2 separate regions of the Homo sapiens genome follow, and region 2 is linked to region 1. Evidence: promoter capture Hi-C in human tissues and cell types (Jung and others, 2019). All regions are on one chromosome and are shown on one strand. The core of a region is centred on a gene start or on the middle of the fragment in contact, and the rest is flanking DNA. Distances in the headings are between cores, read along the strand shown. Region 1 holds the start of SYS1 (SYS1 golgi trafficking protein). Region 2 holds the start of ZNF335 (zinc finger protein 335).

Evidence for each region. The method cuts DNA at HindIII sites, captures the fragments that hold promoters and counts their contacts. A contact is called where the count stands out against the background at its distance.
Region 2: a contact is called between the fragment with the promoter of ZNF335 here and the fragment with the promoter of SYS1 in region 1, in 1 of the 25 tissues and cell types used here (lymphoblastoid cells).

Annotation. Positions count from the first base shown.
Region 1 is chr20:45,358,480-45,365,019 of GRCh38, reverse strand. It overlaps SYS1 (SYS1 golgi trafficking protein), which reads right to left and starts at 1,864. Exons shown (of 4, transcript NM_033542.4): 1 at 1,705-1,864; 2 at 1,327-1,491. The coding sequence starts at 1,488. SYS1-DBNDD2 (SYS1-DBNDD2 readthrough (NMD candidate)) reads right to left here and starts at 1,851. Exons shown (of 6, transcript NR_003189.2): 1 at 1,705-1,851; 2 at 1,327-1,491. It overlaps LOC124904914 (a long non-coding RNA gene), which reads left to right and starts at 1,652. Exons shown (of 2, transcript XR_007067609.1): 1 at 1,652-1,952; 2 at 2,194-2,664. RefSeq lists an enhancer at 1,695-2,134. The HindIII fragment of the contact is 13,954 bases long and covers 1-4,336 here.
Region 2 is chr20:45,969,592-45,976,131 of GRCh38, reverse strand. ZNF335 (zinc finger protein 335) reads left to right here and starts at 3,929. Exons shown (of 28, transcript NM_022095.4): 1 at 3,929-4,010; 2 at 4,672-4,922; 3 at 6,441-6,540. The coding sequence starts at 4,722. It also overlaps the pseudogene FTLP1. RefSeq lists enhancers at 313-849, 3,308-3,527 and a silencer at 4,298-4,417. The HindIII fragment of the contact is 24,986 bases long and covers 1-6,540 here.

The DNA of each region.
Region 1 (6,540 bases), core at 615-3,114:
GTGTGCAACCTCCACTATCCAACACAATACTATCAAATGCCAAACATCTGCACCACACTTTCAGCTGACAAAGAAAGGTCTTTGACATACATAATCTCATATTATCCCTAAAAAAACCTCACAAAGCCATTCTTCTTCTTTTAATTCTTATCACTTTTTGGATAATAACTTGCCCAAGGGCTAACACAGAGAACAAGCAGCAGGAGCAAGGACTCCATCCCAGGTCTCCTGGCTTTAAGAACTGTGCTCGGCCGGGCGCGGTGGCTCACGCCTGTAATCCCAGCACTTTGGGAGGCCGAGGCAGGCGGATCACGAGGTCAGGAGATCGAGACCATCCCGGCTAAAACGGTGAAACCCCGTCTCTACTAAAAATACAAAAAATTAGCCGGGCGTAGTGGCGGGCGCCTGTAGTCCCAGCTACTTGGGAGGCTGAGGCAGGAGAATGGCGTGAACCCGGGAGGCGGAGCTTGCAGTGAGCCGAGATCCTGCCACTGCACTCCAGCCTGGGCGACAGAGGGAGACTCCGTCTCAAAAAAAAAAAAAAAAAAAAAAAAGAACTGTGCTCATCACCACGCCACAGCTGCCTCTTAGATGTAACAACTTATAGGCCTCCTTTACACTTTACAAAGTACCTTCTTATTCCTAAACCCCTCTGGGCCTTGTAACATTTTGTTGAGGGCAACATGGTAGGAGCATCCGGCCCACTTTTCAGAAAAGGCTCAGAAAGGGGAAGCAACTTGCCCAAGGTCCCACAGCTAGTTTTATATGTTTAGGCCTAGACTGAACCCTTGCTTTTCTGAACCCAAAGCACATGCTCTTTATATTGCAGTCCACGACCTCTCTGCAACTAGTCTCATGGTTTTGAAGACAGGAAAACAAGTTCACAGAGGTGACATTTGCCCCAGGTCACACAGCTAGTAAGTGGATCTTAAACGGACGCCTGTCTGACCCCAAAGTCCAGGCAGTTTCCACTGTACCCGCACGAATGCTCTTTTATCCACCCCTCTCTCCGATGTGGCACCTGAGAACCTAGCTCAGAGAAATCAAGTCACTTTCCCAGAGTATCAGAAAGGAAATGTATCAGAGTTGCCTGGAACACAGACGTGTTTATTGTATTAACATCCAGGCCCTTTTCTTTGTACTAATCAGCCTCTGCTGTCATTCCATTTTATGGATGAGGCAGCTGAGGCTCAGAAAGGTGAAATCCCTTTCCCAGGGCTACAAAGAAAGAAGGTGACCCAGCCACGTCTACAGCACAGTAGTGATGGACCACAAAGCCTACTCGGGGAGGCCGAGACCCCACCCGCCCCAGTCCGGGGACCCTACCTCGGCGTCGAACATCTGGTCCAGCGAGGGGCTGCTTCGCACTAGCCCGTCCACCAGCGCCAGCCACAGGCCCAGCGAGCCGTAATACACGGTCTGCATGAGGACGATCTGCGACAGGATCAGCAGCGGGTCCCACACGTAGCTGCGGAACTGACCCGCCATGCCCTGCAGGGACACGAGCCGGGCCTCAGCCAGCGGCCTGTCTCCATGGCAACGTCGCCCCGCCCGGGAGGAGGGACTGGAACCAAGGGGTGAGCCCATTCCAAGAGTCAGGGGGAAGGCGGGGCAGACAGACCCATTCTCAGAGTGAGGGGAAATCCAGCCCATTCCGCCTGCGCGGCCCCCGCCCGTACACGAGCTCCTCTGGGGTCTACTCACCAGTGACAGACTCGACGATCGAAGTGTCTGAGCGTGGCCCGGCCTCACCGGCGGGCTCCCAAAACAGCGCTGACAGACAGGACCATGGAGGAGAGGCGCTGCCGGCCTAGAGAGGCAAAGCTCCAGCGACCACGGCGGCAGGAGCGGCTGCGTAGGAAAGAAACGTTTCCGGGGAAAGCAGCGGAGGGGCGGGGCTGAGGTTGCGCAGGCGTAGTGGGTGCAACCTCTGCCTGAACCTCCTGAACCAGGTACAAGCAGCCGGATAGCGAACTGAGCACATGCGCAGAAGGAAGAGTGAAGGCAAACGGAAGAGAGGAACGAAGGCCGCAGAGCTTGCGCGCCCTCTAGAGGGGAATTCTTTTTTTAAAGGAAGGCGGCTAGGGGAGAGGCAAGTGGGGTGGCTTAGGACGCGGTAATGATGTTTGGGAATTAACGAGGTGATAAACTGTGTCGTTATTTTCAGCCTAAATTCTCAATGTTTTCTCCTAGTTAGAGTCTGATAACTTGAAGTGGACCTGCAAGCTCCTCCACGTAGGAGTTTGCCAATGTTCCCGCTGTACAGATAGTTAAGCTAAGGGCCAGAGAAGGAAAGCAACATACTGTTTCAACGACACAGTTAGTAGCAAAGTAAGTATTAAAATTCAAGTGTTGGTCGGGCGCGGTGGCTCACGCCTGTAATCCCAGCACTTTGGGAGGCTGAGGTGGGCGGATTACCTGAGGTCGGTGTTTCGAGACCAGCCTGACCAACATGGAGAAACCCCGTCTCTGCTAAAAATACAAAATTAGCGGGGCGTGGTGGCGCACGCCTGTAGTCCTAGCTACTCGGGAGGCTGAGCCAGGAGAATTGCTTGAACCCGGGAGGCAGAGGTTGCAGTGAGCCGAGATCACGCCATTGCACTCCAGCCTGGGCAACAAGAGCAAAACTCCGTCTCTAAATAAATAAATAAATAAATAAATAAATAAATAAAATTCAAGTGTTTCCTCAACACTACAACATTGATTTCGCACCTACTCGGTGGCAGGAAGGCTAGAACATGTATATATAAGACAGCCCCTGCCCTGAGACACAGATGAACTATATTAGAAGGCAGAGTAGTGGGTGTTTTAAAATGTGGGTGTCCAGTGGAAAAAGGCACAGGTTCTGAAGTCGCACATAGGAGTAAATCCTGACCCTCTCTGCTGCCATGACTGTTTTATCTATCTTCCAAATCCGAATAGTGGACAGTCAGTAAATATTTGCTGAATGAGTTAAGAACAGAAAAAGCAAGAGCAAATCGATAACTCACTTATTCCTACTCCAGCAGACGAAAACCCATCAACTTCATTGATCCTAGGTTCCCCCTCTCTGAAGTGGAAAGACGGGAAGTAAGTTGTTCCAGGAAAAGAATTTGGGTTTTAGGGCCAGCTATGCCACCCAGTGTGACCAGCAAGCCACTTCCTTCTTTAAACCTCAGCTTCCCTGTTTATGAAATGAGGAGTTGGACATGATTAACGTTTTCCACCATTTAATCTACCTTCCAGTAATTATTTTCTCATTAAAAAAAAAACTTAGGCTGGGCACAGTGGCTCATGCCTGTAATCCCAGCACTTTGGGAGGCTGAGGCGGGCAGATCACAAGGTCAGGAGTTCAAGACCATCCTGGCTAACATGGTGAAACCCCATCTCTATTAAAAATACAGAAAATTAGCCGGGCCTGGTGGCAGGCGCATGTAGTCCCAGCTACTCGGGAGGCTGAGACAGGAGAATGGCGTGAACCTGGGAGGCGAAGCTTGCAGTGAGCCGAGATTGCGCCACTGCAGTCCAGCCTGGGCGACAGAGCGAGACTCCGTCTCAAAAAAAAAAAAAAAAAAACGTATCAAAGAGCCATGTAACTGCCAATCAGAATTTCTGAACAGCTTGTGGTAGCCGTGTTATCACCTTGAGCTGATACAATTCCAGACAAAAGTAAAGAAACTTGAGACTTTATTGAGAGTGTGCGATTGTCCTTATCATTTGGAAATACCCTGAACAGTTCCCCTGGACTCCAGTTGGGGAGTTATTAAGGCCCAAAGATTTCTTAGGTGCTTTCCAGCTCAACCATTCTTTTAGGCACCTCAATTCAGTCCAACAAATATGTATTCAAATTCCTCTAGTTCACTGATTATGCACATGATCTAGTGTTTCTGAGAAAACATCTGTTTCTTAAGTGCCTACATGATCTTGTTTAATTCTCACAATCTGAAAATATAGCTATTGTCCCCTTTTTATAGGGGAGGAAACTAGGCTTGGGGGGAGGTGGTGTGACTCTCTAGGTCAGAGAGCTCACAGGGAGCAGAGCTGAGATTCAAATTCAGGACAACTGACTCCAAACATCAAGATGACTTTTAGTTTAGTTTTGGTTTGGTTTAGTTTGGTTCTTTGAAACAGGGTCTCAATCTGTCACCCATGCTGGTTTGCAGTGGCGCAATCATGGCTCACTGCACCCTCAAACTCCCAGGCCCAAGCCTCGGCCTCCCGAATAGCTGAGACCACAGGCATGTGCCACCACACCTGGCTTTTTTTGAAACGGAGTCTTGCTCTGTCGCTCAGGCTGGGGTGCAGTGGCATGATCTTGGCTCACTGCAACCTCCGCCTCCCGGGTTCGAGCGATTCTCATGCCTCAGCCTCCTGAGTAGCTGGGATTACAGGTGTGTGCCACCATGCCCAGCTAATTTTTGTATTTTTAGTAGAGATGGGATTTCACCATTGTGGCCAGGCTGGTCTGGACTCCTGACCTCAAGTGATCTGCCCGCCTCAGCCTCCCAAAGTGCTGGGATTATAGGCATGAGTCACCATGCCTGGCCCGCACTTGGCTTTTTTGATTTTTCATTTAATTTTATTTTTTTGTAGAGACAGGGTATCCCTATGTTGTCCAGGCTGGTCCTGAACCCTGGGCTCAAGCAATCCTCCCACCTTGGCCTCCCAAAGTGTTAGGATTACAGGCATAAGCCGCTGTGTCCAGCCAAGATGCCATTTTAGAATAAAAGAACAGGAAAGAAGGGAGGAAGGGAGGGAGGGAGAGGGAAATAAAGGAAGGGAGATAGTAAAATAGGTGGTGGAGTAGCAGGAAGTGGAAAAGGGGCAGTGAATCTCTCTGCTCAGTTAGCCCTGGGGTGAGGGATTAGGGAGAAATGGGAGGAAAGGCTTAGAAAAGGGCTGCAGAGGTTGACAATACCCAGGGCAGCTGTCTTCCTTGCAGATGCTGGAATGCGTGGCTCTTCCTGGGCTCTGCTCCCTTCACGTCACAGCTGGGCCCACTCCACCCCATCTCCTCCCAATAGGAAAGGCCCTGCCTACCCATTCTGCTGAACTAGAAAACACAGGTAGCTTTTGATATTAGGGCTGGCTGGAATGTCTGATGTCATCCCTGGAGTCCGGAGCTCACCTCTGGGAAAACCCCACTGGGCGTGCAAGCTAACCTCCTGCCCTTTCCTTTCCCCTTTGGGAGTTCAGTTCTTGGATTCCCGCCTTGCCAAGCTTCGGAAATGTACATCATCCTCCGTCTTAATTTGGATCCAAGAAGGAAACCAAGAGCTGGGGAAAATCATGGCAACCCCTTTGTTTAGCTTCATTGGCCCATTTTCAAATTTGACCACAAGCAGTCTGCTTCAGACCACAGAGTCTGAACTAGAGCCCCACTGGCTTGCTATGTGACCTTGGGCGAGTCCCCTGGTGGGTCCCAGTATCCCAAACTATCAAATGAAAGAGGGACATTGGACTCCGACTTGCAGATGCTGTCATGGCCCTGTGCCATCTGAATCACCTGAGGAACATACTGGATATTCAAATTTCCAGTCCTTGTTTGCAAACCTAAGTCCAGTTCAAGTCTCCCAAAGCAGAGTGTGGAAATCTGTGTATTTAGAGAGCTCCCCAAGTGATTCAGAGGTGCACCCACATTTGATAACTACAGCACAAGATGATCTGTAGTTGACCCTAAACCGGCTCCTTCATCCAACAGAAAACTGCTCTGTGACCTTGGCGAGTCACATTCCGGCTTCAGGGTTTTCTTCCATCTGTAATATGAGGGGATTGGATTTGAATAGCTAGCTGGTCTACGAGGGTTCTTCCTACGCTGCCAAGTCTGTGGTTCCAAACTTATGAATGAAATGTTAAACTTCAGGTCAGAGGCAGAGTGACGAAAAGCCACAAGCTGGGACAAACTGTCCTTTGGGTGGAGGGGAGGGGAGTGCCTCTGGTCACTTGGTCTCTTTCGTCACTTTCACACTGGGGCCCCACTGCATGCATGTAAGGACAATCGCTAAGGTCACCTTCTGGATCCACCCCCATAAATCCCTTGGGAAATGTTCTCCCATAGGCCCATAGGCTTGAGAGCCCTGCTTAGATTCGAATCCTGGCTCTCTGGCTGTCTTGCTGTCCTGCTGGGTGACCTTGGGAAAGTTACTTCATGTCTCTGAGTCTCAGTTGGTTTCCTCTTCTATAAAGTGGAGTTCAGAATAGTACCCATGTTATGGGCTGTCCTGAGGGTCAAATGTGTGCTTAGTCCACTGCCTGATATGCAGTGGGCACTATGTTAACCTCAGCAATGTTAATATGATTGTTATTATTTCTTCCTCTGGAATGTGGGAACGGAAATGCCTGATCTCAGATTTATGGCAAGGATCTAACAATGTATCAGACAAGTCAAGCCCGGTGGCTGGCCCATAGTAAGAGCACATTAAATGTGATACCTTCTCTTCCTCCTCTCACCCCTACTGTCGTGTTCTCTAGATCCCTCCCTCTCTCCCTTCCTCCCCCTCTCCCTTCCTCCCCCGCTAGGCTGCCCTACTGCCCTGCTCACATGTTTCCTTTCAGGGAATA
Region 2 (6,540 bases), core at 2,680-5,179, 610 kb before region 1:
CTGCTTCTGGGTCCAGCCAACACCATTGTTTGTGGTTAGCTCCTTCTTACCAGCCCATGAGCTCCCAGATTCGTCAGAATTATTCCACTGAGGTGGAGGCAGCCGTGAACCACCTGCTCAATTTGCACCTGCAGGCCTCCTCATCTGCCTCTCTCTGGGCTTCTACTTACACTGTGACGATGTGGCTTGGGAGGGCGTGGGTCACTTCTTCCACGAATTGGCCGAGGAGAAGCGCAAGGGTGCCTTAAAGATGCAAAACCAGTATGGCGGCTGCATTCTCTTCCAGGACATCCAGAAACTGGCCCAAATTGAGTTAGATAAGACCCTGGACACGGCTGGACGTGGTGGCTCATGCTTGTAATCCCAGCACTTTGGGAAGCCAAGGCAGGTGGGTCAGTTGAGGTCAGGAGTTCAAGACCAGTCTGGCCAACGTGGTGAAATTGTATCTCTACTAAAAATACAAAAAAAATTAGCCAGGTGTGGTGGCACACGCCTGTAGTCCCAGCTACTAAGGAGGCTGAGGTGGATCGCTTGAACCTGGGAGGCAGATGTTGCAGTGAGCTGAGATCACACCACTGCACTCCAGCCTGGGTGACAAAAAAAAAATAATAATAAATAAATAAATTTTAAAAACCCTGAATGCCACGGAAGCCGCCATGGCCCTGGAGAAAAATCTGAACCAGGCCGCTTTTGGATCTTCAAGCCCTGAGTCCTGCCCGCACAGACCTCCATCTCTGTGACTTCCTAGAGAGTCACTTCTTAGATGAGGAAGTGAAACTCATCAAGATGGGCGACCACTTGACCAACCTTCCCAGGGTGGCTGGCCCCCAGGCTGGCCTGGGTGGGGTTCTCTTGGAAAGGCTCACCCACCCTCAAGCACGACTGGGAGCCTTAAGGGCCCCTCCCAAAGTATCAGGGCTTCTGCCTAAGCCTCTCCCTCCAGCCACTAGGCAGCTTTTTAATTACCCTGGAGCCTTCTTCCAAGCCTTGATCCAAATGGAAATAAAGCTCTGTGGAAGCAAATTAAAAAAAAAAACAAAACATGACTCAGAAAGCACACACACTGCCTGGCATCTTCCCTCCTCTTTCCCTCTTGGCTCTTCTACATTTTTCTCAATGGTCCACTTTAATGTCCTCTGACCCAGAGCCCCTTCACTGCTTCCATAAGTCTCTCTAAGCTGGGGCCATGGAGTTCGAGACCAGCCTGGGCAAAATAGCTAGTCCCCATCTTTATAAACAATTTTTTAAAAGATAAAACAAATTTTAAAGAGAAAACAAAAAAATAAAGCTGAGACCAGAACTAGACTGCACTCTCTGGAGGAACAAACCCTGGATTCACAGGCAGAATACAAGGATTTGCCTGCTTGTCTTTGTGATGGAAGGGTTCTGGTATGTTGTTTCCAAGGAGCCGAGACCTTGGGCTGTTAGCTTTCCCCCTCTGGGCCTTGGGCTCCTCTTCGGTTTCATGATGAGTCTGTTTCATCTGTACCATGACATTCTGCAATCTTGTGATGCTGTGGCAAAGGCCAGGATTAAGGTTGAGTCTTTTTTTTTTCTTTTTAATAGACAGGGTCTCACTCTCTCACCAAAGCCAGAGTGCAGTGGCGCACTCATAGTTCACTGCAGACTCTACCTCCTAGGAGGCTTCAGTCTTAGTGGGGAAGGGAATGAGGGTACTGTGGGGCTACTTCGGAGTACCCCAAACTTGGGAGAGGTGACTTGGTCAGATGTAGGATGCACCCTACTACCCTACTGGCATGAGGGGGCAGATGCTTCTGTAGGGCTGAGGAATGGGGTCCACACGGGAAAACTGCCTGGAGATAGTAAAACCAACATGTCATCATGCCAGTGCTGACCTAGCTCTTCAGAGCTGCTCTGGGGCCTGGTCCTGCTGGTTGCAAGGGATAGGGGATGAGGGTCCTAACCTATCCAGAGGCCTCCTGTTCCATTCCCTCAACCCAAAAGGGAAACCTAGGAAAGAAAACTTTACCTAAGAAAAGGACCAGATGAATCCCCTCATACACAAGTGCACACAAATAACAGCTCAAAGCACCCTTTGTCCTTTTTATTTTTATTTATTTATTTATTTTTTGAAGCGGAGTTTCTCTCTTGTCGCAATGGCACAATCTCGGCAACCTCCGCCTCTGGGCTTCAAGCGATTCTCCTGCCTCAGCCTCTCGAGTAGCTGGGACTACAGGCGCGCGCCACCACACCCAGTGAAATTTTGTATTTTTAGTAGAGACAGTTTCACCATGTTGGCCAGGCTGGTCTCGAACTCCTGACCTCAAGTGATCCACCGGCCTCAGCCTCCCAAAGTGCTGGTTATTACAGGTGTGACCCACCGAGCCCGGACCTTTTCTCCTTATTAATAGGTCTTCTCCTTAGGACTTTTTGTTTGTTTGTTTGAGACAAGAGTTTCCGCTGTTGTTCCCCAGGCTGGAAGGCAATGGCGTGATCTCGGCTCACCGCAACCTCTGCCTCCCGGGTTCAAGCTATTGTCCTGGCTCAGCCTCCTGAATAGCTGGGATTACGGCATGCGCCACCACGCCCAGCTGCTTTTGTATTTTTCGTACAGATGGGGTTTCTCCATGTTGATCAGGCTGGTCTCAAACTCCCAACCTCAGGTGATCCGCCCGACTCAGCTTCCCAAAGTGCTGAGATTACAGGCGTGAGCCACCGCGCCCAGCCTGCTTAGGAGTTTTTTTGAGATTTTTTTCCCCCAAAATTTGTATCTTTCAATTAAGGAAAATAGCCTATGGAACTACAGAGACTTAGGGACAAAAACCAGAGCGCCTTACTCCCTCTTGTGCTCTTCCACTGCAAACTGCTAAAAGTCTTAAAACAGAAGGTGACATTTCCGGAGGAAGGACATACCTTAAGGGCAGCTGACTTTTAATTAAAATTTTTTTTCTTTCTCCACTTTTAAAGGATAGGTAGTTGACTTGTATTTATTTATTTTTTGAAAGAGGGTCTCGCTCTGTCGCCCAGGCTGAAGTGCAGTGGTGTGATCACGGTTCGCTGCAGCCTCAACCTCCCAGACTCAAGCGATCCTCCCACCTCAGCCTCCCGAGCAACTGGGATTATAGGCACGCGCCACCATGCCTGGCTAATTTTTCTTTTTTTTCTTTTTTTTGTAGAGATGGGGTCTCGCTCTTTTGCCCAGGCTGGTTTGGAACTCCTGGGATCAAGCGATTCTCCTGCCTTGGCGTCCCAAAGTGTTGGAATTACAGGCGTGACTCACAGCGCCCGGCCTCAGCTCTATTAATGTTAACAAATATGTATACAAACCTAAGGGACAAGCATTAACTTCTTTCCATTTCCCCGACTCCTGCCATCCGTACTTAGCTCCTGAGTCCCTTTATTGGATGTGATTTTGGACCAGCCCTTCCCATACCCAGACCTCAGTTTCCCTATCTGTACAATAATTATACATTCCCTTCCCAACAAAACACATCAAACCTAACGGGCAGAGCTCGATTGGGTTGCAGCAGCGCGCTAAGTAATAAGTAATGAGTCAGGTAAAATGACTGACAACATGAATTCCTCTTTGGCCAAGCCAAAGTCGCCCGCGGCCACACGCTCTTCCGGGCTGTTGTAGGAGGGGCGCGGCCAAGCCACCGGGAGCCACGCCCCCCACTGGGAGCCACGCCCCAAGAGAGCGGGGCGCGCATTCGCCGCGCCCAACCCTGCGGCCTAGGGAAGGGACCAGAATGACGTCACAACCACTTCCTACGTAACACTCCGCCGAGATAAAGTAGTCCCCAAACCATAGTGGGCTCAGTGCCAAACACCGGGCGACGTATAAAGTCCCAGAGTCTGTTGAGACCCGATTATGGTTTTGAGGCCTCGGAGCGACCTTCCGGAACACTGAAAATGTGTCTTTCCCGGGGCCAGCGGGGGAAGTAGTTCCGGCCTACAATAGGCCGATGGGTTCCTCCGCAGCGGAGGAAAGAGGATGGCGACCTCGTCGATGCCGGAGTCAGAGAGGAACGTGGCTACGAAAGCCTCGGGTGAGCTTCGGGTAGAGTTAGGCGGCCCCACCGTACCCTGCCGTGGAGTGAGGTCACACTGCGGGGATACCCGGAGGCGAGGTCCCAGGCCGGCGGGGCTGTCCGAACAGGGCCCCGGGGTCCCAGGCCCTTTAGTCGCTCTCGCACTTGCCTGAGCGGAAACCCGGCGCCACCACAAGATGGCGTCGGGCCTGGAGCACAGGCAGCGCCGGGGACAGCCCCAAATCGCCAGGCCCCGAGACCGTCGCTGTCAGCCGCCTCCGCAGGGGAACCGGGGGGGAGCGAACCACTGACCCAGGGGGCCAGCGGGCTGTACCACCGGCCCTGCAACCCGGGGGGACGCGGGGGCCGAAGGGCTGAACCACTGGGCCCGGATGGGGCTCACAGAGCGGAACGCTCCACGAGAATCGTGGGGGCGAGGGAAAGGGTCAAGATTACCAGCCATTGACCACCCTCCCGGGAAGGGCCTTAGCCTGGGAAGCACAGCTTCTCCGTCAAGTTTTTCCCGAGCTCCCCTCGCAATACACCAGGAAGCTCCGCCCCGTCGGAGACTCAATCTTCGCATCTGCAAAATGGGCGCAGGGGTGCAAATGGGTGGCCGTGGTTGCCGGGGCTGGGGAGATGGCCCACTTGTTCCAGCCACGGTCACCTCTCTTCTCAGAGTGAAGTTCCCAGACCCTACGCCCCGCTGTCAGGCAGCCCGCCGATCAGATGGAGGAGAACGAGGTGGAGAGCAGCAGCGACGCGGCCCCTGGGCCTGGCCGGCCCGAGGAGCCCTCTGAGAGCGGCCTGGGTGTGGGCACCTCAGAAGCCGTGTCCGCCGACAGCAGCGACGCCGCGGCCGCCCCGGGGCAGGCAGAGGCCGATGACTCTGGCGTGGGGCAAAGCTCGGACCGCGGCAGCCGTTCTCAGGTATGGACCCGGCTGGACGGCGTGGGTGGAGGCAAGGACCGCGAGCAGCAGTGCCTGACAGCCAAGAGGAAACAAGGCTTGTTTGTAGCTAATACTTGGTGTTTCTGGTTTACTGTGAGCCAGGCACCAAGCCAAACCCCTAAAATGGATTTTCTCATTTGAGCTTCATACCTTCTAAGACACATACCATTTTTTCCCACATCTTATAGAAAAGGATGCCGAGGTACAGAGTGCAGACAGAGCCAGGATTCAAATCTAGGCTGTGGTCTTAGCTACTATACTACCCACAGTCCTCACACTTTGAGAGGCAGATGTCTAGGCCAGGAGTGGTAGCTCATCGCCTGTAATCCCAGCACTTTGGAAGGCTGAGGTGGGAGGATCACTTGAGCCCAGGAGTTGGAGACCAGCTTGGGCAAATAGCGAGACCTCATCTCTACAAAAAAAAAAAAAAAAACGCAAGTGCCCTGGGTTAAGACTGGGTCCTGCCTCCAGTTTACTGGGAGACCTCTTTGAGCCTCAGTATCCCGGCTAAAGTAAAGCAGAAATACTTGCTTTCAAGGGTGCTTGATTGTGAGCTCCCACCAGACATCCTCTTGCAAACATTTTGTAAACCATCTCCTCCTGGCTGTGCCACTTCCTAGCCGTGTGATCTTGAGCAAGCTACCCAACATCTAGCTCTGTTTCCTCGTCTGTAAAGTGGGAATGGTAAATATACCTGCCTCATAGAGTTTTTGTGAGGATGAAATGAATTAACATATGCAAAGCTAATAATTAAAACAGTGCTCAGCACATTGTAAGCACTCAGTAAGTATTAGCCATTCTTATATGCAAGATAATGGTCATATTCAGTATATCACGTGATAGAAGTACACAGCAGTGGTCATCACTTTGGGGTCCTGGGGTTTCATTAGTTCAGCAGAGATGGGGGCCTACCATGTGCTCAGCGTGTGCTGGGCCCTGGAAATACAGCAGAGGAAAAGACAAGTTTGGTCCAGGCCCTTGTGGAGGGCACAGTCTGGCATGGAGGCTGTTAAAAGGCACAATGAACCCCACAGTGGTGTGGTGCTGGGGACACAGGCAGCTGCAGCACTGAGGATGAAGAAGTCCTGACTTGGCCTCAAAGCCAGCATTGACTTCCTAGAAGAGGTACCAGCTAAATGGTGGTGAGAAGGCTGGGTAAGATTTAGCCATAGGGTGATGCTGGGAAGAGTTTCAGGCAGAGGGAACGATTTATGCAAAAGCCCAAAGAAAATAGCTCCCCCTGGCTGTGGCTTAGGAGTCCCTTCTCTTATTTTTGTGTATTCCCTGATGAGATCCAGGGACCCTGTGACTTTTTCCTGGGGGACTCTGTGACTGGAGGGCCTCTCTCACTGGTCCTCCGTGGGGCTGAGGGCATGAGTGGCTCCACTGACCATGTCCTTGGGCCTGAGAGCTCTGTCTAGCAAGTGGGAGCTGGCAGGCTGCCCTGCCCCATACCCAGCTGCTAAACTTTTTCCCTCCCTGTTTCATGCCCCTCAGGAGGAGGTATCTGAGAGCAGCTCGAGCGCAGACCCCCTGCCTAATAGCTACCTCCCTGATTCATCGTCTGTGTCTCATGGGCCAGTGGCAGGGGTGACAG